Regions from separate parts of the Homo sapiens genome. Here all the other regions are linked to region 1. Evidence: promoter capture Hi-C in 16 types of primary human blood cells and fetal thymus (Javierre and others, 2016). All regions are on one chromosome and are shown on one strand. The core of a region is centred on a gene start or on the middle of the fragment in contact, and the rest is flanking DNA. Distances in the headings are between cores, read along the strand shown. Region 1 holds the start of FRRS1 (ferric chelate reductase 1). Region 2 has its middle 120 kb from the start of LINC01307. Region 3 has its middle 39 kb from the start of LINC01307. Region 4 overlaps EXTL2 (exostosin like glycosyltransferase 2). Region 5 overlaps EXTL2 (exostosin like glycosyltransferase 2). Region 6 has its middle 46 kb from the start of EXTL2.

Region 1 (4,912 bases), core at 1,499-3,998:
ATAATAATCTTTCAAAGTTGTGAAGGGACCTTGAAATAAAAAAAGTTTGAGAACTGCTGATATAGAGGCATGAGAATGGTAACCAGTAGGGTAGCTTTAACTTCTTAGGATCTAAGCTCCATTAAACTAATTTTAATAAAATTGGTCTCCTTTGTGACAACTGATGAGTTGATGAAGAGTCTGGTAGAGGTGATCTGGAAGGGAATGATAAGGTGGAATTATAGCTGGGGACATGGAGAGAAATGATAGTCTCAGAAGGGGTGGTGTTTTATTTATTTATTATTTATTGAGATGGAGTCTTGCTCTATTGGCCAGGTTGGAGTGCAGTGGTGTGATCTCTGCTCACTGCAACCTCTGCCACCCAGGTTCAAGCATTCTCCTGCCTCAGCCTCCTGAGTAGCTGGGATTACAGGCGTGTGCCACCACATCTGGCGAATTTTTGTGTTTTTAGTAGAGACAGGGTTTCATCATCTTGGCCAGGCTGGTCTTGAACTCCTGATATCGTGATCCACCCCCCTCGGCCTCCCAAAGTGTTGGGATTACAGATGTGAGCCACTGAGCCTAGTGAAAGGGTTGTTTTAGACAAAGCTAGCCTCTCTCTCCATTCAGTTCTTCCCACTGTGTCGTACCACTTCCTAAGAGTGCTTTAGAATGTAGGGTTCTGATAATATAGTCGAAGAGTTTTTGTTTTATAGACATATCATACTTTTGGCATGCAATGGGGACAGTTCCTGGAAAGGGTCTGTTATCTGCAGAAGGCTATTTCACCACTTGAGGCTTTGAAGAACTGAAGATCAGCTGACTTAGTTTAAAACTATTCATGTTCCCAGCAGCTTTAGGATAGCAAACCAACTCTGGGTCATCTTTATTTAAAGCCTCTCTTTAATAACCTGTAGAGAGGGGCTTTTGTTAATTGTGACTAGTTCTTTAAGAGAAAGCGTAACGTGATGGTGTTCCTTTCTCTGTTCTCTCTTTAAAAATGGTTTAAAGAATTTACTGGGGTTGATTGATAACCAGCATTCACAGGTCAAGGCATGGGTCATAATCTATTTTCCAGTCTGCATATGTTGAAAGCGCCTTTGCAAAAAGGCTTTTTGCAAAGCCTTTTATAACTGAGGAAATTATGGCAGTGAATGAGAACAGACCTAACTGGCTCTGTCTTGCTTCTAATCTTTAAGCTGTCCTTGTTCATTCCTGGGCATATGCCAAACTAACTTTGGGAAGGAATCCAGTTCATGTTTTGACTCTGAAACAAAATTGGTAGTAGCCCTTTCCTGAATAGACCCCCTTCTTGCCTGGGGACCAGTCTGCCTTTGCAGGACCAACAAATTAGCTACAAGATTAGAAATTATGGTTTAGGGGTCATGCAGCCTCTGGCTCCAAGAGTCTGAACCTCCCCAAATTGCTCCTGGGGATAACATCACTATTGTAAAACCTAAGATCAGTGCTTGAGATATTTTGCAGAGCCTGGACTCGGTGGATCAGCTGATGCCACACAGACCGGTAATTGGGCTCACCCAGTTCTGCCATCCCACCCAGGAACAGAAGACAGCAAGAAAACCTCACGTCGACCCCCCATGATTCCATCTCCAATCTGACCAATTAGCACTCCCACTTCCCAAGCCCCTACCCGCCAAATTATCTTTAAAAATTCTGATCTCCGAATCCTGGGGAGACTGTGTTGAGTAATAATAGAACTCCGGGCTGGGCGCGGTGGCTTATGCCTGTAATCTCAGCACTTTGGGAGGCTGAGGCAGGTGGAATCACTTGAGGTCAGGAGTTCCAAACTAGCCTGGCCAACATGGTGAAACCCTGTCTCTGCTAAAATACAAAAATTAGCCGGGCGTGGTGGCGGGCGCCTGTAGTCCCAGCTACTGGGGAGGCTGAGGCAGGAGAATCGCTTGAACCTAGGACGGGGAGGCTGCAGTGAGCCGAGATCATGCCACCGCACTCCAGCCTGGGCCACAGACAGAGACTCCGTCTCAAAACAAAACAAAACAAAACAAACAAACAAACAAAACAAAAAACTCCGGTCTCCTGCACAGCCAGCTCTGCGTGAATTACTCTTTCTCCATTGCGATTCCCCTGTCTTGATAAATCGGCTCTGTCTAGACAGCGGGCAAGGTGAACCCACTGGGCAATTACAATGTCACTCAAGGTCTGAAATGGAATGTTTAATATTTTCAATTACATTAAAGAGAAGAAAAAAAGTAAAAAACAGGAAAACAAAAAACAAAATAAAAACAAAGATTGTTAAAAATTCAATTACATTGTCTTTTCCTAGCCCTAAAATTTTTCTTTTGCAAAAGAGTCTTGTGAAACAGATTAAAGGCTTAAAAAGAAACAAAACTCCTAAATTTCAGGGGTAATTTGCAAAATAAAAGATTTCTTTTGCATTATATCATTCACACTGCAGAAAGGTTTCGGTTCTATGCAATCTGATCTTTTTCCACTTTTTAAAAGTTAATTTGCTTTTACTTAGCACTATTATAGAACAGGTATTTTCAAATAGTTTTGCAATTAAACACAAAAACTATAATTTTTGTGGCGAAGTAGGTACTAGTTGGCAAACACTGTTCCTTAGTGTAAAACAGAATTCTAAGTTTTCAGAAATGGAGTCCTAAAACTAGCACTGGTCTTGCAAATCAAGTTCTGCAGCTTAGTTTGGGAAAGGTTCCCTTTTGGCTCAAGGCTTAACTGGCTCCACCCAGCTGCTGAAATGTGATACAAGTTGTAACAAAACCGGAAGTTGGTTAGGCTGCCTTCGCTTCTCAAGGTAAGTGTCACGTCTTTTTCCTTAATGTCAAAGCTCTTTGTAAAGCGTTAAAAATCAAATCCAGCTTAGCGACAGACTGGAGAGCGAGTGCCTGTGCTGACCAGGGCAGTCGGCCAGGCAGAACGGGTGCTGTATTCCGAAACTATGTTCTGGAGCTTGAATTGAGCTAATGAGTGTTCACTAACGAGTTAGGTTAATATGTCCTGTGACTTTGACTAACAAGCTTTAATTCCAAGATATGGGTGGTTATAAGTAGAGACGTGTTTGGGATCCTGAAAATCATTGACTTTATTCTTGCAGGAGTTTTTTTTTTGTTTTTAATTTTAAATTTAAAACTGTAGGAACTCTTTTTTTATATTTAAAGCTAGTGGCATGGTTACCTATATCAGGGTCACTTAGAACCTTATTTGGTTTTTAAAGTGGCTTTTTATCTAGAACTTTTAGTCCCCTTACCCTCCCACTCCCTAGCCCTGGTGTGTCGTTAAAATTTCAGAAAGACTCCAGGGTGGCAAGGTGTTATCACTGCACTTATTTTTGTGTGTGCTTGTCATACTGCCCTAAAGGGTAAAGGGGATTTTTCAAATTGTAAATGTGTTATTAGGAATATTTCTTAACATAGCTAAACTTTTCAGTTCAGATATTTTCATTTGCTTCTGTATTTTTATTTTTTATTTTTATTTATTTATTTATTCATTTATTTTTGAGACGGAGTCTCGCTCTGTCCGCCAGGCTGGAGTGCAGTGGCGCGATCTCGGCTCACTGCAAGCTCCGCCTCCCGGGTTCAAGCGATTCTTCTGCTTCAGCCTCCTGAGTATACTGCTGGGATTACAGGCGCCCGCCACCACGCCCGGCTAATTTTTTGTATTTTTAGTAGAGACGGGGTTTCACTGTGTTGGCAAGGATGGTCTCTATCTCCTGACCTCGTGATATGCCCGCCTCCGCCTCCCAAAGTGCTGGGATTACAGGCTTGAGCCACCGCGTCTGGCCTATTTATTTATTATTTTCGAGACGGAGTGTTGCTCTTGTGGCCCAGGCTGGAGTGCAACGGCGGGATTTCGGCTCACTGCAACCTCTGCCTCCCGGGTTCAAGCAATTCTCCTGCCTCAGCCTCCTGAGTAGCTGGGATTACAGGCAGGCACCACCACACCCGGCTAATTTTGTATTTTTAGTAGAAACGGGGTTTCTCCATGTTGGTCAGTCTGGTTTCGAACTCCCAGCGTCAGGTCATCTGCCTGCCTCGGCCTCCCAAAGTGCTGGGATTACAGGCGTGAGCCACCGCGCCCAGCCACTTCTGTATTTTTAAAAAAGTGGTAAGATTTGAGTATTATACTGGGATAGAACTGAAGTTGGGGGCTTAATTTGATCTATCAGCTTATTGAAAACAAAGACCTTTTAAGAGATGGTTTTGTTAGGTTGGAGAAGTGAGTTTTAGTTCGTCATTTAGTTAGCCAGTATGTTGATTTTTTTGGTGAAGTGTACTCTCTGTTTCACACCTGTCAGCTTTTTTAATATTGGATTTTCTCAAAATTCACATAACAATCACACTGTATGAGTACTGTTTTGAAGGTTGTCTGCTAGTCAGAATGAATGGAGATCAATGTGTAGGACACCTTTACTGATATCCAGAGGTTTACCAAAAGACAAGTCACCAAATGTGGCAGAAAAACATGATAAAATTTATTAGGAAAAACTAAAGCTTATGGAGTGAACAGTTATTTCAGGTTGGTGGAATTAGGCAAGAATCCAAGAAAGGAAGACAGTTTTATATGGGAGACTTTGTTAATGGTGGTCATTGTGCTAGATATTTTGGAGATAGTATTTTATTTAATCCTCATGCAAGCCATTGATATTGGTGGCATTGTCTCTAACAAGTGAGAAAACTAAGACTCAGTAAGGTTAAATAATTTGTCCAGGGTCACTATGGTGGTGCCTGCTGGATTACATTAATGGACAGATTCAAACCTAGGTCTGTGATATTTCAAAGTCCATACACTTCATTGTATCATAGGACAGTAGTTGACGGCGTTTTAAATGGATCTTGAAAGAGGGGTGAAGGTCTTCTTTATCAAAACAAACAAAAATAGTAAAAGTAACATAGAATGTTTGAAAATAGAAAAAAGAAAATATCTAACCACC
Region 2 (4,912 bases), core at 1,692-4,191, 1.7 Mb before region 1:
TCTCAGAGTAAGAGATGATATTGTCTCTTAGGTCAGTCATCCCAGATGCCTGAAAGGGTGAGGTTGAATATTTACTGAGGCCACTCCTGCTTTTGGGACCTGACAAGACTGACAGGAAACCTGCAAACCTGGTTGATCTCATCCTGGGAGATACTCACACAATCTGATTAACTGGACTAATTATTAATGATTGTGTATATATATATTTTTGATGTAAAGGATCCATGGTTGAAAACCAGGGTCTGGCCTGTGGTGTTATGATATATATTGGTTTTCATCCATGGTTCCTTGTTCATAACTCCCAGAGCCCTTGTCACAGTCTTCTGTCACAATGTTGGGGGTGTTAGGCCTCAGGCGCAGGCCTCAGGAAATAGAATCTTTCTTCTGCTCTCCTTTCACCTGCTCCAAGGCAGGACTCTAATGTTCCCCCATCTTTCTGATTGTGGGTCTTAAGACCCTCCCAGGAGAGAATCCCACCCTGTACCCTAGGGGGAGGAATGCTGACATCATGGAGCTTCCATAAAAACCCAAGAGGGCAGAGTCAGCGAGCTACCAAGCTGAACTCTGAACGTGTGGAGGTCCCTGAAGGGCGGCACATCCAGGGAGGACGTGAAAACTCCCTGCCCCTTCCCCCATACCTCACGCTACATGTCACTCCTTCTTCTGTATCCTTCGCAATATCCTTTATAATAAACCAGTACATGTAAAAAAGAAAAAAAAAGAAAGAGGCCGGGCGTGGTGGCTCATGCCTGTAATCCCAGCATTTTGGGAGACCAAGGCGGGTAGATCACGCGGTCAGGAGCTCGAGACCAGCCTGGCTAACATAGTGAAACCCCGTCTCTACTAAAAATACAAAAATTAGCCAGGCGTGACGGTGGGTGCCTGTAATCCCACCTACCCAGGAGGCTGAGGCAGGAGAATCACTTGAACCTGGGAGGCGGAGGTTGCAGTGAGCTGGGATTGTGCCATTGCACTCCAGCCCAGGGGACAGTGCGAGACTCCGACTCAAAAAAAAAAAGAAAGAAAGAAGAAAAGAAGAAAGGAAGAGAGAGAGAAAGAGAAAGAAAGAAAGAAAGGAAGAAAGAAAGAAAGAGAAAGGAAGGAAGGAAGGAAGGAAGGAAAGAAAGAAAAAGAAAAAGAAAGAAAAAGAAAGAAAAGAAAGAAAGAAAGAAAGAAAGAAAGAAAGAAAGAAAGAAAGAAAGAAAGAAAAGAAAGAAAGAAAGAAAGAAAAAGAAAAAGAAAGGGCTATGTTTGTATAAACATGTTTTTAAAATTATCACATTATTTGCTAATATAAACTTAGTATACATAATATATTTATGAAAATAAACTACAAGGAAATCAACTTTTGTGTTGTTAGGATGAATCTCTAGCTATTGAATCCCTGAAACCTTAAGAAGCAAATTTTTGGAGGCCAGTCAAGTCCTCTATGTGAATCCCCAGGACTGGCTTAAGGAGCTTTCACCCTGAGAAGTCATTTAACTGAGAGCATGGAGAGGGTAGTGGAAACGACTCAGGCATTGTCACCAAACCAACCTGGGCTTTCATCCCGCACACCCTGTACTATCTGTGAGAAGCCAAGAAATTGACACAATTTTTCAGAGCTTGTTTCCTCAGACGTTACCAATAAAATGGGAGAAAAAAAAAACTCCTTGGGATTATTAGAAAATCAATGACATATAATGTGCAGTAGAACACAGCAAAGCACTGGACCAGAGTGAATAATAAATAATAAATAGAGTTGTCTGTCCTTGCCTTTCTTTTAACCAGCCTTCCAACCTCACAGATATGACTATACCAGCTCATATTGGATCACATGCTCCACATAAAATACTCTGTGTCTGTATATGCAGGACTATGAAAAAGGTATGCTTTGTGCATATGTTTGATGCCCTTAATTGCAGCTTCTTCCAGACTGCTTCTTATTTTCTCCCACCTTCTAATCTGGCAGTACTTTAGAGGGTTCAAATTGGCTCTGACCCTAAAATAACTTACTTTTGCTTCTGATAGTCCATAACAAGAAACATTTTTATGGAATATAATGGAGAGCTGGCAGCAGGCTGAGAATCTAACACAAGACTTTAAATGCTGCAGTTATCCATCAGTCACACTATAGAGCAGGTCACGCATAATAAACAGCTGCTTTATTAGGTTGATGGAGTATGCAGCAAATACAAAATGACGGAAAGCAGCTACAGACCAGAAGCTGAGAAGTCGCAGGAAAATGTGCTGGTGTGGGCCAATTCATGGATGCCATTGACAATCATGCCAGAGATCAGTTCTGACCAGCACACATTTCTATACTGGGAAGCCCCGGGACATTCCAAGCGCAAGAGCCAACCATCCCTGCAGGGAGGACAACCAGTATCCAGACCAAACTCTTCTGTCAGTTGGCTGCAAAATCTACTTTTCTCAATACTGAGATGCTACTAAATAAACATGTAACATGAATAAAGATAAACTATTAAAAGCTTATTTTCATGTTAAATTAGCAAGGATATTTGGGGATTTGTTTCATGGCTTTAATCCAGGCATATTCCTCCCTCATCTTTTTTTGAAATAGACTCAAGTTCTGTTTCTGACTTTATCCTGGGAGCATTTGTTTGTGACATGCAGAAAATGGGAACTGAATAGCCAGCAAGCCAAAAAGGGCAGACGATGCAAAGTCTATAAGGCAAAATGGAATGTGGGGAACAATTAGACGGCTCAAACTCTTCTCCTTCTGAGCACCACTGCATTTCCTTTTATTCATATTGTTTTACTAACCATCCCCCACCCCATAGGAGGAAAGGGATCAAAAGCTCATCAGCTATGCTAGCTTGAGAGTTGTAATCCCGACAAGCCAGCTAAAAAGTACACAAGTTTTTAAGTATATGCAAATGTGCACTGGTTCCTCTACTAATCTTATTTTGCCTTCTTTTTTAAGAATACTTTTTGGTTTTTTTTCAGACAGGGTCTTGCTCTGTCACCCAGGCTGGAATGCAGCAGTGGGATCTCTGCTCACTGCAACCTCCACCTCTAGGGTTCAAGCAATTCTCCTGCCTCAGCCTCCTGAGTAGCCGAGATTACAGGCGGATGCCACCACACCCAGCTAATGTTTTTGTATTTTTAGTAGAGATGGGGTTTCACTATGTTGGCCAGACTGGTCTTAAACTCCTGACCTCAAGTGATCCACCCACCTCGACCTCCCAAATTGCTGGGATTACAGGTGTGAGCCACCACGTCCAGCCTAGAATATAATTTTTTAATGTGATTCCATTTTATACTATGCCATTGTGACTTTGTGATCCATAAGGATGTCACAGAAAAACATACTATTGAAATCATGAGATTATAAGAGTATATGCTTAAGACTACGTCCAGCCAAATTACAGTTGATCATTTCATGGGGGAAAAAAAAAGAAAGCTTTTGCTCGTTGATCTATGCTTTTTCCATCTTAAAATTCCTTATGTTAGTATTTCAAGTCAATTTTTGTTTCCCTGCATAATCCAAGCAATTGCCACAATTTTCCATTTTACTTTGCAAATATTCATACATCAGGCATAACATTTTGCAATGATCTATCACAACCAGTTAAGTCTGTCTCTATAAACAGTAACTTTATTTTCTGAACCAAAAACAGGCCACCTGGGCTGCTGGGAGGGCAGAGTGCTTTACACCCAGCCTGTATCCCTGATTCACTCCCTTCTCCATCAAATAAGTATTCAAAACTGCCACTAGTGTTATCTTTCTAAACTGGAAATCAAATCAAGTCACTCCCATGCTTCAAACCTCTTGATGTCTTCTCTTTTTCTGTAAGATAAAATCTAAACTTCTTGGTTGAACAAGCAAACCCCCAAATAGCCAGGCTCAAGCCATCTCTTTCTGAAAAGAGAATCCACTTCATAAGCCCTTCCATCCAGCCATTCTCAACTTCTTGCCCTGGCTTAACGCAGCCTTTTCCAGATTTCATATCTTTGTACCGGCTATTCTTTCTGTGGAAATATTCTTACTCACTCCCAGTCCCCCTCACCCCCACCCATACACACACTCACTTCTACTTATTCTTCAAGACAGATTCCAATGTCTCCTCAGGGTATCTTTCCAAGACTTTCCCAGGCAGTTAGTTGTTTCTTAACAAGTTATTTGTGCCTATATCAAAGCACTCACAACATTTTATATCAATTTATCTATTTATACATTTATGTCTCCTTCTAAGCTATAGCTCTCTACAGTTTTAAGTAGACTATTTTGATGGATAACTCCAAATTGTAACTGTCTGCTGGAAGCTGGAGACTATTTTTGCCTCAGGCTCATGAGGTGAGTTCTATCAGGATCAAGGCTACCACGTGGGGGAGATGTTGTAAAGAGAGTACCAGCACTGGGGCAGGGAAGGGACGAAACAGTGATCTTTAATAATTCTTTGATAACTTTAATTTTTTAATGACTCTTCCACACCTAAGATGATGAGCGTAGGACAATAGAAATAGCCTCACAACAATCTTTTTGGTTCATCAGTAACCAGCAGCCATAAGCCAGGGCTGCCATAAGGCTTCACTACAGAGAAAGGCAGCATACTTCTAGCTAATTTATTAAGTTGAGACTCCACATTAGACACAGTCTGGGGTTAATAGCTGTGATTTTTCTATCTCTAAAAAGCTAATTACAAAGACCTATCATTCCCATTTTTGTTGGTAACTAAAGCAGTTCAAGAGGTATGCCTATTGGGGAAGTAGGAGAAGTTAGAGAGGCTTAATTGGGATAGTTGCTAATTCCAAAGAAGAGGAAACATAATAACAAAAATGCTTTTTTTTTCATTACAAAGAAGTTCTCTTTGAACTACAAATATAAGCTCTAGACAAAATGCATTGGCCCAAATATTTAGATTCCTGCTGACAGTCAGAGTCAGTGGTGGACTGATGTCATGCCAAC
Region 3 (4,912 bases), core at 1,330-3,829, 1.5 Mb before region 1:
CAAATTTCAGCCTACTCCCAAACCTCTATAACCCCTAGCCACAAATTCCTTTAGGAGGTGGATTTGAGGTTCCTTCCAATGTCCTCATTTGGTGGTCCTGTTATTAAACCTCATTCTCTGCTGCAACCCCATGTCTCGATCTATTGACTTGCTGCACATGAGGGGCAACAGGTGGCAAGGCAACAGACCTCCGATGGCTGCAATTTCTCTATCTATCTACAATGTTCTTCCCCATGGTTTTCCTTTTTTCTTTTTCTTTTTCTTGTTTTTTTTTTTTTTTTTTTTTTGGCAATCTTTCTCATTCCTGAAGGCTCAGGTCAAATGTCACCTCCTCCTTCCATCAGGAAGCTTATACCAGGCCTCTCTCCTCTAACATCCCATGGCACACAGAGCCTCTACTACTTTGTTGGTGCTTGTTTTCTGCTCTGTATTGTTAGTTGTCTTTTGTCTGTCTCAGCTCTTTGTAAGTTCCTGAGGAGAGCAGAGAAGTCGGCTACTTCTTTGTGTGGGCAATGGTTTCCAGTACAGTGTCCTACTCATGCTTGTATTTCTTCTGACTCAACAACTCTGCCAGAATCTCCTCCACATGGACTAAAGGGAGGCAGGATGATTTAGAAAAAGCTTTTTATAACATAGGACTAAAGGAATACAAGTCTATGAAAAATTAAAACTAAGCTAACAATTCCACTGTCTCCTAAAAGTACTAAGAGGATATATCATAGGGTACAGGATAAGCTCTAGAGTCAGACAGCCTGAGTACATAGCTTTGCTCCACCCTTAACAAGTTGTCTCACCCTGAGTAAGCCAACTTACTTGAGAAAATATTAATAGCACCTAGTTAAAAGGGATTTTTATTTGTTTGTTTTTTACTGTGGTAAGAGTACTTACCATGAGATCTGCCCTCTTGACAAATTCATAAGTGCACAATACATTAATGTTGCACAGCAGATCTCTAAAACTTATTCATCTTGCATAACGGAAACTGTACACTCATTAGAACATGAAGGTTTTTTTAAGAAATTCTACTTTGAAATAACTTTAGACTTACAGTAAAGTTGCAAAAATTGTAGTTTCTATATACACTTCACCCAGTTTATTGAAATATTAGTATCTTACATAAATGTAATGCAATTATCAAAACCAGGAAATAGACATTGATACAACAATATTAACCAAATCTACAGACCTTGTTTGAATTTCACCAGTTTTCCCACAGATTTCTTTTTTTTGATCCAATCCAGGATCTCATATTGCATTTAGCTATTATATCTTCTTCATCTTCTTCAATCAGTGATAGTTTTGGAAAATCCAGGACAGTTATTTTCAAAATGTCCCCCAGGTTTTCTCATGAATAGATTGAAGTTATGCATTTTTGGCAAGAATGGCACAAATAGGATATTGTGCCCTTCTCAGTGCATCATATCTGGAGGTACATGATCTTGGTATGTCCTATTATTGATGAGGTTATTCTTGACCACTTGGTTAAAGTGATGTATGTTGGGTTTCTCCACTGTTAAGCTTACTATTTTTTCCCTTTGTAATTAGTAAATATCTTTTAGGGAGATACTTTGAGACTATACAAATATTCTATTTCTCATACTTTCACCAACTAATTATAGTATCCATCCATGGGGCTTGCCTACAGCAATTACTACTATGGCATTTGCCAAATATTAATCTTCTATTTTTCTGATTCCTTCTACATGTATCAACTGAAATTCTACTGTAAGGAAGAGCTATTTCTTCTTCCCTATTTGTTTATTTGGAGGCATTTTATGAGGATTAAATGAAGTAGGACATTTACATGGTGTCTGGCACACGGTGAAGGCTCAGTAGGTGTGAGTCATCTTTAATATTATTATTACTGAGACAGTATGGAAGTTATGTAACTAATTGTTATGTGACTAATATTTTCTAGTTAGAAATGAGTATTTCTAACATGTTTAAAGGTGTTCCAAAATGGTCTACTATATTAGTTTGCTAGGGCTGCCATAACAAAAGATGACAGATTGAGTGGTTTAAACAACAGAAATTTATTTCTTGCAGCTCTGGAAGCTGGAAGTCCAAGATCAAGGTGTCAGCGGGTTTGGTTTCTCCTCTCTCCTTGGCTTGGAGACGGCCACCTCCTTGCTGTGTCTTCACGTGGCCTTTCCTCTGTTATGTTGGCACCTCTGCTGTCTATCTGTGTGTTCTCATTTCCTCTTCTGCTAAGGACTGGTCAGATTGAATTAGGGCCACGCTAAGGGCCTTATTTTAGCTTGTTCAAGTCTTTAAAGGCCCTGTGTCCCAATACAGTCACATTCTGAAGTACTGGGGCTTAGAGTTTCAACACATGAATTTGGGAAGGGGGAGACGTCATTCCACCCATATCTACCTATTTGCTTTGAAAAACTATTGTGAGCAAATCATTTAACATGTGAAAGCACTTTCAGAACTGGAAAGCACCGTACAAACATAAGGCAATAGTATAACAATACGACAAATTTTGGTAAGCATTCATGCACTTTACATTTCAGGTACTGAAGCATTCCTTTACAATGTTATTGCCATTATTCATTTAACTTTCCTTTCACGGCTGCCACGGAACTCTGGAAGGCCCACTTCAACCCGGGCACTGTCTGTGTTATCGCACATCCTCAGCGAGTGTCAACCACATCAGTGTGTTTTGCTTGCTTTTTGTCTTTCTGAAGCGTGGGCTTTCAGCAGCTCATTTCAGGCTATCCCAGCTACCTCTTCAGAGGCCCGAGGCACCTCCTTCCTCACAGGGAAAGCTGCCTGCGAGGCGGCCGGCAACCGCCTCATTTCCCCGTCTACCAGCTGCGTAGCCTTGGGCAAGGCCCCTCCGTGCAGCACTTCGTCCCAATTCCACGGCTGAAAAAGAAGGATAACAATCCTCACAAGGAGGCTGAGGATTAATGAGTTAATCTTTATAGAGCATTTGGAGAGCACACAATGGACAAACCCCTATTTATCTCTTTGTAGAACTAGCCTACAAACTAAACTCCCACTAGGAAACTAGGACCCTTTTATATAATGTTTACTTGAAGGAAGCAATCTGCAGATTCTAATAAATCTTAGCTTCCCAGAAGTGGGAAAAAGCACACATTTCACTATATCTGAGTAAGTAAAAAAGTAGAACAATTTCTCCCCACCGAAGGTTTTGCTTATCAGAGGCTAACAGAGGCCAGGGAGAAACTGTGACCTGTGGTCTGCCTTGCCTGTCATGGATAAGGAAGAACCAGAGACTCTCCCCAGGGCTGTCAAATGTTTTTAGAGCTGACATCCTTGCGGTCCACAGCCTCCAAACTCAGAGCGTGTGGGAGGAGGGGATGGATACAATTTAATTGCCTCCTGCAACTTGCCAAGCCCACCACCATTTTCCCAGGCTAGCAGTAGCCATTCCTTGCTTAATAGTAGTGCTTTCAAGCCCTTCAGAGACAGGAGTACTTCAGCAGCCAAAGTGGGAAGTCCTTCTTCCAAGTCTTCCAAGGCCTTTGGCCACTGCCAAAGCACCCCAGAAAAGTCTGTCTGTAGGAACTGTCTCTGTTTACCATGTTGCATTACCTCTTTGCTCAGAATCAATCACTCCACCTGTGATTGATTGCCAGGGGCCACCAATACTGCTTTAGGGGGAAGCTTTTCTCCACACCACATCCCTTATTTTCCTTGCCTCACTCCCAGGCAATTTTCACCACAGGTCTGGCAACAGCCTTCTAAATGATCTCCATAATTCTGCTCCCTAATCCCTACTGCATGGTCTTCCCTGCTCCTCTCCACCTATCCAACTTCTAAATCTGAAACAATAAAATCTTACAAATCCCACCTCTATTCTCATATCCCTTGGAAGTTCTTGTTTAAAGGATCAGTAGAGATTAGCCAGGCCAAGAGAATGCCTGTGTGTGAGACGGGGCGAGGAGGGAGAGAAGAGGGCCAGAGAGCAACAGGGACTGCAGAACAGCACATACAAAGTCGTGATGTGAGAACGTGGCTCACGTATGCAACTACTCGGGACTCAGCAAAACTGGAACCTAGAAGGAAATAAAGCTGGCGAGGATCAGCAAAGCCAGGCCCCCTGTGAAGGAGTTTGGACTTTATCTAGGAGAAAGTGGGGGCCATTGAAGGGTTTTAAGTACACAAGTGTCACAAACAAGTTTGCATTTAAGAAAGATTTCTCTGGCAACAGAGCGGAGAATACATTAGAGGAGAAATACTGGAAGCAGAGAGACCATCTGAGAGGCTGGTACAATTATCCACAGTTGATGACAGCAAGGGGTAAGAAGGAGAGGGGATGTTAACTTCAGCAGCGTTACTCAAAAGTGTTGTCCTTGGGCAAATGCCAACTTCTGGACCAATGTCTGTCCTCCAACTGTTTTTCCTGATCTGTTATGAGATAAAGAACTTGTGCCAGAATGTAAAGTCAAGGCAGGCACTTATTGCTTCATCATAAAAAGTCTTGCTTTAGGGGGGAAAATAAGTCAGTCATACTACACAGTGTGCTTAGTGAAGTATTTGATTTACATTCTGGCCCAAGTCCCTTATCTTTGTGAAACGGTAACAGTCTGCAGACCAGCACTGTAAGTGGCACTGACTCCAAGGACTTTCTGGATTGATGATGATTTGGATCCAAATGAGAAGTTTATAATCATGGTGGGTTCGGTAAATGAGGGAGACAATACATGCTTATAAGAAAAACAAGTAACCCAACTGTGGACAGGGTGATAACCTGAATGAGTGATGCATTATCTCACTCATTCTTTGAGGACTCCAACTGAGAAGCTGGATCCCTGAATGGAATGACCGTAGGTTTTTGCATAAGTCAGAACTGAGTTCAAATCCTAACTTCATGACTTACTGGGTAAACTTATGTTAGTTAGCTGACTTCTCTGAACCTTATTTCCCTGCGTATAAAATG
Region 4 (4,912 bases), core at 1,723-4,222, 1.1 Mb before region 1:
TAGAACTCTGTGATGTTTAAAATTTACACAAGGGATGCCCTTGGAGCAGTGTGAAGGGACAGCTGTCACTCAGTAAGTCTTTCCATAAATACTAAGCCATTCCTTTTGCCCTTTCAATATGTCGTATTGGAAAATCAAAAATGATTCTTCAACTCTGTTCAAATGGTATCTTGCAAGTCACCAATCAGAATTCTTAATTCCTTTGTATGTTACAAGATTAAATCGGTTTATAAGATCATAAAATACATATACTATTGAACATTTTTAAACTAAAAAATGGATTTCTACCCTGAACTTTTAAATATGTTTTTATATCTCTCCTACCAACTAATTGCATTAGGTTAGCTATGCAGACTCTATGGGTGGAAAAACCCCAGCTGCTCAGACGTGTGACTGAGGATTCTGAGAAATGAAAGCAGAGAGAATTAAGGGGCAGAAGCTCATTTCAGTCATGGTTTCAGCTCCTTTTGGGCAATGGTCAGCAAGGAATAGGAAAGATGCTATCTGTCATTCCTCAGTAATCAACCCTGGCATTTATCTGCAACCCTGTTTGACCCTTTTAGATGCTTCAAATTGAGCGCCCTGGGAACTGCTGGTTAAAAAAGGAGTTGTAAAGGTACATAAGAATACAAATTCATATAAATCTAGAAACTGGATACAAGTGCAAATTGCTGACATGTTCAAATGTTTTGCTCCATGGCATACATCCTCTGGTTTCAAATGTGTAACATTAGATAGTTGGGATCGTGTGCATTTATTTTGCTTCTGGATCCTTATATTAGGGTTCTCTGGAGGGACAGAACTAGGATAGTTCTGGTAGGATAGATGCGTATATGAAAATGAGTTTATTAAAAAGAACTGACTCAAACAATCACAATGTGAAGTCCTACAATAGGCCATCTGCAAGTTGAGGAGCAACAAAGCCAGTAGTGGCTCAATCAGAGTCCCAAAACCTCAAAGGTAGGGAAGCCGACACTGCCGCCTTCAGTCTGTGGCCAAAGACCTGAGAGCCCCTGACAAACCACTGGTGTAAGTCTAAGAGTCTAACAGTCAAAGAACTTGGAGCCTGATGTTCGAGGGCAAGAAGCATCCAGTACAGGAGAAAGATGAAGCCCAAATACTCAGCAAGTCAGCTTCTCCCACCTTCTGCCTGCTTTTCGTAGCCAGGCTGGCAGCCAATTGGATGGTGCCCACCCACATTGTGAGTGGGTCTTCCTGAGAGTGGGTCTTCCTGTCCTAGTCCACTGACTCAAATGTTAATCTCTGCTGGCAACACCCAGAAACACCCAAATACACCTAGAAACAATACTTTGCATCTTTTAATTCAATCAAGTTGACAATATTAACCTTCACAAGTCCATCCCTTGTCAACTTGAACCCATACACATTTCTTGAAATCATACCTAATCTCCAAATAAATGAAACTGCCTTTGCAAAAATTATAACTGAGGAAATTATGACAGTGAAAGATATCAGACCTAACCAACTCCGTCTTGCTTCTAACCTCTAAACGTCCATTCCTGAATGTAAGCCAAACTAGCCTTGGGAAGGAATTTAGTTTATAGTTTAAATAATAGCCCTTCCCAAAAGCTAAACTGTTGTTGTAAAATGATTGAAAGGCCACCAGGCACCAAGTTAGGATGAGAGGGGCTGGAATTCTAAATATTACCAGCCATTATTCCAGAGGTCATAAGATTTGCAACTTTTCCAGTTACTCTTGAAGATAACATCACTATTGTGAAACTAAGATTGGCCTTTTGAGATGTCTTTTCAGGTTTTTGCATTTCTGATAACTGGATGGCCCCACCTGGACCTGCCAACCAGTTCTGTGGCCCCCACCCTGGAGCTGAGTCAGCATAAAAGGACAGTTTTGACTCCCTAAGATTTCATCCACAAGCCAACCAATCAGCACTCCCAACTCACTGGCCCCTTACCCAACAGATTATCCTTAAAAACTCTGATCCCTGAGTTTTCCAGGAGGCTGATTTGAGTAACACTAAAACTCTGGTCTCCCGCACAACCAGCTCTGCATAGATTACTCTTTCTTTTTTGCAATTCCCCTGTCTTGATAAATTCGTTCGGTCTAGGTAGCAGGCAAGGTGAACCCATTGCATGCTTACATAAAAACAATAATACGGTCATAATTATGCCTAACAATACAGCTATCCTTTATACAACCAGAAGCATACTAATCCTTAACCTAAATGCCATTACATAAAGTTAACAACACTTAAATGCTGATATGATGTCAATAAATGTCACAGGATACAGGAAAAAGAGGGGAAATATAGATATATTCTTTATTCTTAGTACAAGTGTATACATGCATAAACATATTCTTAACAAAATAAGGAGGAAAACTCATGACAATTACAGTCCTAATTTCTGCAACTGCTTATGTGGTCATAGCTGGTATTGATCACTACCTTCTTCTACTACCCATTCTGTATTCCCTTTGCTTTCAGCAAGCACCTCAGCAGGTCATAGTTTTTTACCTGGTGAAGTAAATTGGTACTGCAGAGAGTAGGGCATTGGTATAAAAATATCCAAAAATATGGAAGAGACTTTGGAACTGGGTAATGGGTAGAGGATGGAAAAGTTTGGAGAGCTCAGAAGACAGGAAGATGTAGGAAAGTTTGGAACTTCCTAGAGACTTGTTGAATGGTTTTGACCAAAATGCTGATAGTGATATGGACAATGAAGTCCAGGCTGATGTGGTCTCAGATGGAGATGAGGAACTTATTGGGAACTGCAGCAAAGGTCACTCTTGCTATACTTTAGCAAAGAGGCTGGTGGCATTTTGCTCCTGCCCTAGAGATCTGTGGAACTTTGAACCTGAGAGAGATGATCTGAATTTGGAACTTGTGTTTAAAAGGGAAGCAGAGCATAAAAGTCAGGAAAATTTGCAGCCTGACTATATGGTAGAAAAGAAAAACCCATTTTCTGGGGTGGAATTCAAACCAGCTGCAGGAATTTGCATAAGTAACAAGGAGCCTAATGTTAATCACCAAGACAAAGGGGAAAATATCTCCAGGGCATGTCAGAGACCTTCACAGCAGCTTCTCCCATCACAGGCCCAGAGGTGTAGGAGGGAAAAATGGTTTCATGGGCTGGGCCCAGGACCCTACTCCTACTCTGTGCAGCCTTGGGACTTGGTGCCCTGCATCTCAGCCATGGCTAAAAGGGGCCAACATACAGCTCAGGACATTGTTTCAGAGGATGCAAGCCCCAAGCCTTGGCAGCTTATACATGGTGTTGAGCCTATGGGTGCACAGAAGTCAAGAATTAAGGTTTAGGAACCTCTGTCTACATTTCAGAGGATGTATGGAAATGCCTGGATGTCCAGGCAGAAGTTTGCTGCAGGGGTGGAGCCCTCATGGAGAACCTCTGCTAGGGCAGTGTGGAAGGGAGAAGTGGGGTTGGAGTCCCCACACAAAGTTGCCACTGGAGCATTGCCTAGTGGAGCTGTAAGAACAGGGCCACCATCTTCCAGACCCCAGAATGGTAAATCCACAGACAGCTTGTACTGTGCGCCTGGAAAAGCCACAGACACTCAAACGCCAGCCTATGAAAGCAGCCAGGAGGGGGACTGTACCCTGAAAAGCCACAGGAGTACAGCTTCCCAAGACTCTGAGAGCCCACCTCTTGCATCAACATGTTCTAGATGTGAGACACAGAGTCAAAGGAGATTATTTAAGAACCTTAAGATTTAATGACCGCCCCACTGGATTTCGGACTTGCATGGGGCCTGTGGCCCCTTTTTTTTGGCCTATTTCTCCCATTTGGAATGGGAGCATTTTTCCAATGCCTATATCCCCACTATATCTTTGAAGGAACTAACTTGCTTTTGATTTTACAGGCTCCTAAGCAGAAGGGACTTGCCTTGCCTTGGAAGAGACTTTGGACTTGGGCTTTTGGGTTAATGCTGGAATGAGTTAAGACTTTGGGGGACTGTTGGGAAGGCATGATTGTGTTTTGAAATGAAATTTAGGAGGGGCCGGGGTAGAATGATATGGTTTGGCTGTGTCCCCACCCAAATCTCATTTTGAATTGTAATCCCCATAATCCCCACTTGTTGTGGGATGGACCCAGTGGGAGGTGATTAGATCATGGGGACAGTTTCTCCCATGCTGTTCTTGTGATAGTGAGTGAGTTCTCACAAGATCTGATGGTTATAAAAGTGGCAGTTTTTCCTGTGCTTACTCACTCTCTCCTGCCCCCTTGTAAAGAAGGTGCCTGCTTCATCTTCCGTGATGGTCATAAGAGGCCTCCCTAGCCATGTGGAACTATGAGTCAATTAAACCTCTTTCCTTTATAAATTACCCAGTCTGGGGTATTTCTTTATAGCAGTGTGAAAACAGACTAATACAACCCTCAATAGAAAGATGAAAACCAAAATATAGCACCAACCTCACTGGAAGTCATTAATCATCTACCTCATTGCCTAAATATAATTTTTAGAAGACAGAATAACAAATTTTAATTTCTAAAGTAACTCAAGGCTTATGGACAATGGCATTGAAAGCACCATTTTTTGTTTTGTTTTTAAATTTCCTGCTGACTGACAGAAACATCACAGAAAATTCTTTGATTTATCTTAATAGTGACAAGTGAGCCTGCTTCTGTCAATTACTGAAGCTATAAGGAGATTTTTTAAAAATTAAACTTCAACACAATGAGGTAAGTACCAATATTTTTTGGCTTTTGTTTAACTGTTGTAAAATACGTATAACACAAAATTTATCACCTTAACGGGTTTTAAGTATATAGTTCAGTAGTGTTAACTGTTTTCACATTGTTGTGCGGCCGATCTCTGGAACTTTTTCATCTTGCAAAACTGAAACTTTATACCCACTGAACAACAACTGTCCATTTCTTCCTACTCCCAGCCCCTGGCAACTGCCATTCTTTC
Region 5 (4,912 bases), core at 1,390-3,889, 1.1 Mb before region 1:
TACACGCCACTTATATGCAGCAAGGAGTAAATGTGTTACTAGATTCGGGTAGTGCATTTTGTCACTGAATCTGACCTTGAGAATGTACATTAATTCTTATATTTTACATAATGTATGTGTTGTTTAAGAAATGTATAAAAAACCTGAAAAAAATGAGTAAGAACTGGCAGAAGTTAAAACCCTTTGTATCAAAAGATCTTTATTGGTAGAGCACTGGTTATCTTCTGGATACTAAAAAGTTGTATTACAAAGCCAAACACTTGCATTCACAACTTTAAAAAAAGATCCAAGGAACTATTCATAATGATGAAATTTCAACTACATACAAGGAGGAGAAAATAAGAACCCAGTCATAACAGAGGAATTCTATAGGAGTCTGCATCAATTCATTCTTAAGGTTGCCTACTCTCTGTTATGTGAATTAGCGTCTGTGTTTCACCCATTGTCTGTGTTTAGTCCTTGTTCACCACTAAGGCAAGGAATTCTTAACTAGGCCTCTGTTTACCAACTTCTCTTTCTCCTCCTTTCCCTCTTATTCCTCCTTCTCCTCTTCCTTCTTATATAATGCTAGTATATTCTCAAAATTGCAAAGCTGTGAGAATATTAAAATAATCATGGCTAATGTTCCAATAATGAGGTCTTTGTGCATTTAGTTCCGCATATGATGGTTTTTTTTTTACATTAAAGAGTATATGTGTCTTAATGCAGTCAGATTGTAAAAAACAAAAACAAAGAAACTAAGAATCTTACTAAAAATCGATAATGTCAGTTATCTGTTTTGTCCAATATTGGTAGTACTTTTTTGCCTCTTATGATTCCTCTAGCAGATAAATAAAAGAAACTTTTGCCATCCATGTGTTCTGTGTTAACTAAGCAGACTCATGTTTTTGTGATTGGTGTTCTTACACATTTCTAGATATGATACTCTAATATGTTGCTGAGAATAAGGTAGAGACATTAGCCACATTACCCATGAAAAAATATTCCCAAATTTTATTTCCCATCTTGTGTCTTTAAACTTGTCTTAAGCATCACATAAGTTAATCATATCATGGTTTCAGATATTATAGAGCAAATAATATGAAACCAAAGTGCAGTTCAGTCTACATTACAAAGACTCTTGCATTGTAGATAGACTCCTATTAAAGCTGTCTTTCCCTGAACGCCTCTTATTCTTGCCTCAAATGATCTGGAGAAGAGATGCTCAGGCTTAAAACTTTGTAAGAGAAGCAATGCAACGTAGCGGGTCAATTGTGCACACTTTGCCATTAGAATACTTGGGCTCAAATCCTTGCTAGACCTCATTTTCTCTTTACTCAGTTTCCTTATCTGCAAAATAAGGATAATATCTGCCTGGAGTTTGTTTTAAGGAATAAAAGAGATAACTTGCATAAATACAGCACAGTGCCTTGCCCATTTTAGATGTTCAGTAAATGAAAGCTGTTGGGATGACAGTGTTATTGATAATAAGGACAGAATTAATCCTTCCACTCACCACCTAGGTGTTAGGAAGCCCCTGCATCCACCAGGTGAGACATTCAGGAAATTATTTGCATTTAACTATGGGTAAGGAACCATGGCAGTTTCATCTCCTATTCATTATTTATTTCAAATACTGTTTTTCCTTTCTTTTTTTTTGAGACGGAGTCTCGCTCTGTCAAATACTATTTTTCTTATGATTAAAGCAGTATATATTCATTCCGGCAATTTTGGCATATTCAGAAAAGTATAAAGAAGTAATTAAAAGCCCACTACCCCAATTAACAATGGCATTTTTGTATGTGTTCCTGCAGACTTTTCTAGGCATATATTTTACTAGCATGATTTATCTGGTATTTTATTATATGAATAAACCATAATTTATGCACTCAATCATACTACCATTTTATTTTATACTTTTTTACCATTATAAAAACATTTGGATAAGTATCTTTGCCTTGAAAAGATATCTTTGAGCATATCTATAATTATTTCTTTAAAATCAAGTCCAACAAAGTTCAATACCTGGGTCTATCTAGTAGTGTGTGTGCTTTTAGGGTTTTGCTACATACTGCTAAATGCTTCCAGAGGTGTTGACATGGCTAGCCTATTCATACCACATCTGAGAGCACCTGTTTCCTGTCAGTTTCCCAAAATTGAGTATTATTTAACAGGTTCTTTCATATATTTTTTCTACATATAAAATACTCAAATAGTGCTGGATTTGAAAGGCTGCTCATTCATAGAACTCTGTGTTGAGAAGACTGAAAAGGCAGGCAATCAACTATCAAAAAAACTGGAGGGCAATATAAGCTTCAGGAAGCATTTGACAGCTTCTAAAAACTTTACTCCAAGGTTTAGAGTATAAACAATGAAAATTTCCTGGTACCAGCAATAAACCGTTTGGAAGCAACAGAAATGGCCACATTTGTTTCCTCTGGGAAGACCTAAGGCTTTGAACCTGAGGCCAGGAAGGGATATCTGTGTGTGCTAGAATACATGCACTTGAGGGGGTAGGAGGGACAGGGAGTGGAATGTGGGAGAGGGAGTGGAGGATATTGCTGTGATGGAGGATGAGTATGAAGGTACTGAATCTCAAAGGTTGCCACAATGACTTAAATGGTGAGATTATATCATCCTCTATCCCATGCCAGCTTTTATCGTTTATTGTTCCACTAAGTTGCTTTCAACTTTGTTCACTTTCTCCCTTCCCTCCTTCTTCCCCTCCCTCATTCTTCTTTCCTCCACTCCTTGAAAGCCTTCTTAATATACAACTCAAATATATAGCTACCATAGATGAAAAAAAGACCATTTGGTACCCTAGAAACATGCACTGAGTCCTGGGTTGACTTAATTTCATCTGAAGAATAGGGATGAAAATACCTGCCCCAAGATTCACAGGCCATAACGTGTAAAGAGAACTTTGCAATAGCAGGAAAATTAAAGAATATTGTAAAAGCCATCACTGATAAACAGCAGCTTGGCCAACAGTTAAAAAGAAAGCTTGGTTGTGAAGTAGTAACTGTGTCAGAATTATACCTTAGAGTATAAAAAGAAGCGAGAGTAAGTATGCAAGTACTGAAAGCAATTTAAGGGGCCCACTTTAGCTCTAGCTCAGAAGGAATATGTAAATGAAGTATTTATTTAATCTAGAGAGGCCTCAAGTCTCTTTTCTTTTTCATATGTCAATATTTCTTTTATCTAAAAGGAAAAAGAATCAAATTCTTGATTGGAATATTTTCAGTAGTTTAAAAATATATATATCTGAAGCAATCAGTCTTACTTTATAGCCGTAGGTCCTAACCTGGACTGATTTTGCCCCCGAGGGGACATCTGGCAATGTCTGGAGACATTTTTGGTTGTTACAATGGAGGGCTTGCTACTGGCGTCTAGTGAGTCGAGGCCAGAGATGCTGCTAAGCATCCCACAATGCACAAGACAGGCCCTCACCACAAAGAACTAAGTGTCCCAAAATGTCAGTAGTGCTAAAGTTGAGAAAAAATATATTTGGCATTATATTATGGAATATTTCATCAGTCTTGTATCATATCACACTACTTATCACAATGAAAGTTGCATTTTTAAAGTTTTATCCTGTATAACAATGCCTATTGGAACAGAACATTAAGGGAAAATGTGCTTGTATTTCTGATAAAACATCTGATGCATGATGCTATGACCCTCAACCTCATCAAAGAGCCAGAAATTTCCCTGGTTAAGGTTTATTTTTGATTCATTTTCTTTTTCTCATCCACATACCTCTTTCTATTTTCACATATTGAAGAAATAGAGAATGGAGCTTGATTTTCTGGGAGGGAACATATGAATGAATATATATATTTCTGAAGCACCACAGAGAAATATTATATAATATGCTGTGTGTTTTAATAATGTCTCAGAGAAAGTCGGCATGGTTGAGTTAAAATAAGCTAAATATAAATTCTCAGGTAAGCATACTTATGTGTGAGTATGTGTGTCCAAATATTTTTGGTTTAAACAATAAATAATATACAGCTAGTGAAGACAATTTATATAGAAAAGAATCTTGCGATGGGAGAATCAGGGAACTTTCTTTCTAGTATCAGCTAGGTGACTAAGTTAATTAAATTTATCTGGGTCTCAATTTCCACATATACAAAAGAGAATGACAAACTAAATGGTCAGGAAATTTATTTCCCGTTTCAAAATTCCATAACCCTAAACGTGAGTATTGAATTAATAGGTTTTAAAGTAGCTATATTATACTTCCCAGCAAGAAAAAATTATCCCGTAGAGTTTAGCTCTGTTGGAACCTCCCCTACATCCTAATCCTATCTCCCCAGAAACACTGTCTCCAAGTGAATTCTAACTTAATAAACATCACTAGTTGTTTGCTGCGTTTTAGGGCCAAAATACGTGATGATGATGTCATCACGCAGTGGTAAACACCGACTGGAAGAGGTTGTGATTTCACAGATATTTTACTTCTTAACAAAGCTATTTAATGGATACCACTGGCCATTATGAAGAACTCGAAGACAGTTACAGCAGGCTAACAAACCACTTGACTCAAATTGAGCTATGAATCAGAAATGATCATATACAGCAGCTAATTTTTTAAACCCAGAATGCAAATACGAATTGTAAAAACAATTAAATTATTTGATTTCATTTACACTGGTGAAACATGATTTTTATGGAATTTACTGTCTGACCAGCAGATGTCAGTGCAACCTAATTAACTAACATTTTTAGTAGTTTAAATACCTGCCAGTAAACTAAGTGAAGTAGTCTTAAAATAGCAAAGTCAAAAACCTACTGTCAATGTTTTTGATTAAGAATATCTAAGTAGAGCTATAGAAAATATCAATCCTTCAAAAGTTAAATTAAATGGGTCCTTGCCTAGGTAAATCATATTACATAAGTTATGACACCTTGTTATCATAATTTCTGT
Region 6 (4,912 bases), core at 1,315-3,814, 1.1 Mb before region 1:
AGTTAAAATCGTTTTGAATCCTCCAGCCTCTTTAAAGTACTGTCCTAGGGCCTACATGGAATACGAGACTCTATAAAACATCACTTTCTCCTCTCAAAATAAACCTGTAATTTACTGGTAGTTTTAATTTTCATGTAAATTACTATTTGGGAGCATTAACCATCAAATTTCTTATGTATATTCTATAGTGAGTATGAAGTTCTTGGGTCATAAGTATGAGCATTTAAGAACATAATTTTATTTTTATGTAACAACTTGGTTTTGATTTTAAGATCTTTTTTTTCCCCAGTAGCAGATAAAATAATTAGATCAGTTCTGGGTAAACTCAGTTGTTAGGGTCTTCTCTCCTCTCTGATGTGAAATTTAATTTCCAGGAGCTTTTGGCATGGTGGTTTCTGATGGGGGTGATGGAAGGATAACTGGCTCATGCTTGCATCTGTCCTTCATATTGGCTCCCATGAAGATGTTCTAGCCCATGGAGACTTGCACAAACCTTCCTGATGGCATCTGCAGAGGTGTCCCTGTTCCCACCTGCACCATAGTGGTGTGGTCCCTACTGCTTCCCCCTCATCAGGGAGTCCCCTCATTATGACCATGAGCCCCTTGCCAATTCTCTGGCTAGTTTCTGCACCCCTTTTGAAAAGCAAGAAAATTAATTCCTCTCATACACCACTATTGGCTCTTAGGAAGCTCAGTAAGGTGACCTTGGGCTTTAGGTGCCCACACCCACATACACAACCACATCTGCTACTAAGCCTGTTCCATGACGGTAGACGGAATTTCTGGAGACAAGGTTGTCTTCAAAAATTCCCCATGATCTTACTATTCAAAGAGTGGACCATGGATTATCTGCATTAGGATCAACTGGGAATGTGCAGACTCCTGGGCCACATTTCAGAACTACTCAATTAAAAGTGTATTTTAATAAAATCCTCAGGTAATTTTTATGCACATTGAAATTTGCAAAGCACTGATCGGAGATACAGCATAGAGTTTCAATTTACCCTCAGAACCTTGACTTCATCTAAGGATTCTATTGCTCTCATCTCCCCGAGGGGCTAATTACTGAGGGAGAGGTATGGGGAAGTAGGGTCTGGTGATCTTTTCTAAGAGAGTTTTGTCAATGTCTTAACAATCTTGTTTCCCATCTCCACTATATCCCTTTTCTTCTCTTAGTCCAGATAAAGGTTTAAGTTATTTTCTTCTGAGAGAGGAAAATGCTCCAGCAAGTATTTGATTTAATCTTTCTATCACATAGGTGGGCATTTTAAACTGAAAAGCCAAGAATGTGTTATATTTATTTTCTGATTGTGCTGTAATTCCCTCTCCTTCCCTTCTTCCTCACATCTCTGCTTGGGCCATTGGAACAATTCAGTTTAGTTGCCTGGATAGGGGAGGTTCAGGGTCAAGGTAATATAGGAGAAAGCAATTAATACTTGTCCATATCATCTCATGGGGATAAGGATTTTATTTAGGTTTTAAAATATTTTAGACTCAAATGGATTTATGTTTTCTAGAAAGCCAAACTACATTTCTGAAACTGTAGTTCATTCTGTCATATTGAAAGTCCTTCTATAAGGCTGTGTTTTCTGAAAATGGGCTTTGCTCATAGAATTTTTGTGTGTAGATAGTGAATATTGGGCAAGTAGACTGATAGAAAGGACTTAAGCCTCTTCTGTCTTCAACAGTCCAGTTTGGTGCAATAGTTGATGTTTCAGATAGGTCTTCTTTGACTCTTTAAGAGTGAGCTATGCTCACTTTGAGTTCCAGGTATTTACTTCGATGTTAGCATTTAACACTTTGGTCACTGTATCCCTTATTAGACTACAAGATTACTGAGGACAAGGATCAGAGTCTCTTTCACTGTTTCATCCCCAATGCCTAGCCCAGTTCCTGGCTCATAGGAAAAACAAACCTGCTTGGATGAATAAATGAGCAAATTTATTGGTATTATTCAAAATTTTCCTCACTGAGCCTCAATACATGAGAGGGAGAAAATAAATATATAAAGTGTCATGGAAGTCTTTTAGTCCAATCACTGACTCAAAGTAAGAATCCTATATATAGAATCTCTACAGAGTCAAGCTTTTGCTAAAATATTTCCAGAAGAGGGAATATACTTAGGTTTTTTCCATTTATGGATCATTCACATTTTTAGAAAGTTCTTTCTTTATTGAATCAAAATCTGCCTCCTTAATTCTGTCTGCCCTTTGGAGTTTTATAGATTTCCATTTCTATAGTATAATTCTCCAAGTTTGCTAAAAAGACACAAGTTCAAAAAGATTTAAAATGTAGTAAGGATGGCTCATCTTGCACAGAAATCACCAACAGCTGGAACATCTGCTTTCTCCCTGATAAAATAAATAGGCTTTGCTTTGAATTTAGGTATTTATGGAACTGTCAGAAATGGAAAGGGAGAGGAATATGTGGGTTTGGCTACCACATTCAAGGAGGGAGAATTACCTTGATTTTTAGCCTTTGATGTGAGAGCAGCATCGTTTAGGTGCTTTATGATATCTGTCATATAACACAATATGGGGATTCATTTCTGGTTGTGGTATTTTACATTTGAAAATGCTCATCAAAATTTCTCTATGTGCCCTTGTTCTATGCCCATATAGCTACTCCCTACTGTCATTATCACTCCAAATTCTACATTTGAAAGACCAGAATTACCTCCTCCTCTTAACCAACTGTTTCTACCAACTACTCTATCACTGGCACTATTATTCTCCCAAGAGCAAAAAATACGTGGTTCATTTATCCTGCTCATCCCCACATCCTCTCAGCTACATAGTCGTGAGCATTTCTCACCTGTAGTGTTTCTTACATTTACTTCTTCCTCTCCAGTAATGATGAGGAGGCTCTCATTGCTACATGATTCATTTGCTGCTTCCCTTTCTCACTCCTGCTCCTATCCTGTTTTCGTGAAGAAGACATAGCACAGCTACATTATTTTTTTCTTGAATTCCATTGTCATCAATCTTTCACCTAATTTAAAATCCCAAACATATGGATGACCTGGTACATCAGTCTAAGCTTCTCTACTTCCATCTCAAGGTCCTCCTTCAACCCCAAAACCCTTAACTCTCAAATTGTCCAGGCTCATGTTAGCTACTGCACCACCCCATACAACCCACCCCAAACTCCAAGCCCACTCCAGTTGGTACCCTCTTTCCTTGCAACCCATCTGCACCCCAACTCATCCACAGCTGTGCTACATTTGCATTTGTATTGATCTGCTCTCTCTTCTGTGCCAATTCTTAAGTTATATTTTCCCCACAAGTTTTTATTCCAGTTATTCCAGGCCTTATTCTTCTCCTTCTCTTTCTATCACTTAACATTTTTATTGTGAATTATGATTTTAAAACAGGTAAATAAAACATGTGCACAGTTTTAAAACAGGTTGTGAAAAGAATACCCATGTAACTACCACTCAGATAGGAAGGAGAGTATTCTGGGAACCCAGTACATTTTACAGTACTAATAGTCTGTACCTCATAATTTAGTACTTATGGTAATTAAGTATCATCTTGCCTTGTCTTATGGCTTAAATGTGCCATTGTATTCCTCCTACTCTATTGTAGGCTATTGAAAGGCAAGGGCTCTACAGATTATTCTTTAGAATATCCCACAGTGTCTCAAACTGTGCTAAGTAAATACTACATATTCAAGAGATGCTTGTTCATTGATTACAGACTAGGAAAAAGCAACACTTAGTACAAACAATATGTATGTTTATGTCCAAAAACTAACATTGTTATATCTTTCAAACACATGTTAATCTTTAGGAAATAGCACAGTTCTAACGTCTTAGCTTCTTTTTTTCCCACATATTGTCCTCCTTGGTTTCGGTTTTCTTTTCTTTATATGGCATTCAGCTTTCCTGGTGATTTCTCAGGGAATTTCCAGTTTTACAAAGCAGAATATAAAAGAATGCCTTGATAATAAATAGAAGTCCCTGGCAACACAGTAGAAACACCAATGATTGCCTGTCTTAATTCAGTTAAAGAACTGCTATAATCACAAAGCAGTCTTCTCTCTTCCACTGCACAATTCTCTCATGAAAAGAAACTCTGCATTGCATCCAAAGGTCTTTAGCAAATGTTAATAACATTCCACATATTGGAGGTTTTATCACACAGGACCTCCAGCAAAGATTCCATAACAGCAATAGGAAGAAAAATATACATATATATATATATATATATATATACACACACACTCTAAATATATATACTAAGGAAATAGTAAACCTAAGAAATGCACATTTGAAAAAAAAAAAAAAACTAATCCCTGAAGGAGTTCTCAGTGCAGGACATTTGACTTAAGGAATTGTGCATTGTAAATTACATTAAAAATGTATAAAATATGCTGATAGTGATATACAGCAAAACAGCATACATATTACAAGACAACAAAGAACTCTAATGTTTGGTCAGATCTATGAATCCCTGAGATGTTGGGTTAAGTAAGTATTCCTTACATAGGAGAATCTGTGATTCAGCAGCAGAAAGAAGGAAATCTATTCTTTTGTCCTATCTTACAGTTTCTATGACTGAGGCAAAATTCATTATATTAAAGAAGCATTTCTTGTTCCAGCTAATTATAATCAGACAGTGGAGAAAAGCAGAAAGAAAACTTACATTATCAAAATGGATATATTTACAAGAGCTTAGTTCATGCATAGAGCATTAACTAAGGCCACAAGTGAAATAGCTGTATTAGGTAAGGTAGTAAACCACCAAAAATGGTATCTGACAATCATGGTGTTCAATCAGTTAAGCAACTAAGCCTAACTGTCAAGCTTCAGATATGAGGAAATGGACAAAACTATTTGGAAGGCTTATATTTTTATTAATTTAGTTAACAAATATTTATTGAGTGCCTACCATGTGCCAGATCCTTTTAT

What was found. The method cuts DNA at HindIII sites, captures the fragments that hold promoters and counts their contacts. A CHiCAGO score of 5 or more calls a contact.
Region 2: a contact is called between a fragment that was not itself captured here and the fragment with the promoter of FRRS1 in region 1, in 1 of 17 cell types (non-activated CD4 T cells). The highest score is 6.3, in non-activated CD4 T cells.
Region 3: a fragment that was not itself captured here is called in contact with the fragment with the promoter of FRRS1 in region 1 in 1 of 17 cell types (erythroblasts); the score reaches 5.2 in erythroblasts.
Region 4: a contact is called between a fragment that was not itself captured here and the fragment with the promoter of FRRS1 in region 1, in 6 of 17 cell types (megakaryocytes, M2 macrophages, M1 macrophages and 3 more). The highest score is 7.2, in megakaryocytes.
Region 5: a contact is called between a fragment that was not itself captured here and the fragment with the promoter of FRRS1 in region 1, in 14 of 17 cell types (total CD8 T cells, total CD4 T cells, non-activated CD4 T cells and 11 more). The highest score is 12.3, in total CD8 T cells.
Region 6: a fragment that was not itself captured here is called in contact with the fragment with the promoter of FRRS1 in region 1 in 5 of 17 cell types (non-activated CD4 T cells, activated CD4 T cells, total CD4 T cells and 2 more); the score reaches 9.2 in non-activated CD4 T cells.

What each region holds. Positions count from the first base shown.
Region 1 is chr1:99,764,471-99,769,382 of GRCh38, reverse strand. FRRS1 (ferric chelate reductase 1) reads left to right here and starts at 2,748. Exons shown (of 17, transcript NM_001361041.2): 1 at 2,748-2,776. The HindIII fragment of the contact is 6,315 bases long and covers 1-3,001 here.
Region 2 is chr1:101,438,005-101,442,916 of GRCh38, reverse strand. No RefSeq gene overlaps it. Among named protein-coding and RNA genes, the nearest start is that of LINC01307, 120 kb to the right of the region's middle. The HindIII fragment of the contact is 935 bases long and covers 2,474-3,408 here.
Region 3 is chr1:101,281,991-101,286,902 of GRCh38, reverse strand. No RefSeq gene overlaps it. Among named protein-coding and RNA genes, the nearest start is that of LINC01307, 39 kb to the left of the region's middle. The HindIII fragment of the contact is 2,118 bases long and covers 1,521-3,638 here.
Region 4 is chr1:100,888,521-100,893,432 of GRCh38, reverse strand. EXTL2 (exostosin like glycosyltransferase 2) reads left to right here. Exons shown (of 5, transcript NM_001033025.3): 2 at 4,605-4,680. The coding sequence starts at 4,676. Among named protein-coding and RNA genes, the nearest start is that of EXTL2, 3.9 kb to the left of the region's middle. RefSeq lists a silencer at 3,273-3,473. The HindIII fragment of the contact is 9,761 bases long and covers 1-4,912 here.
Region 5 is chr1:100,868,329-100,873,240 of GRCh38, reverse strand. It overlaps EXTL2 (exostosin like glycosyltransferase 2), which reads left to right. Exons shown (of 5, transcript NM_001033025.3): 5 at 1-850. Among named protein-coding and RNA genes, the nearest start is that of EXTL2, 24 kb to the left of the region's middle. The HindIII fragment of the contact is 690 bases long and covers 2,295-2,984 here.
Region 6 is chr1:100,846,585-100,851,496 of GRCh38, reverse strand. No RefSeq gene overlaps it. Among named protein-coding and RNA genes, the nearest start is that of EXTL2, 46 kb to the left of the region's middle. The HindIII fragment of the contact is 954 bases long and covers 2,088-3,041 here.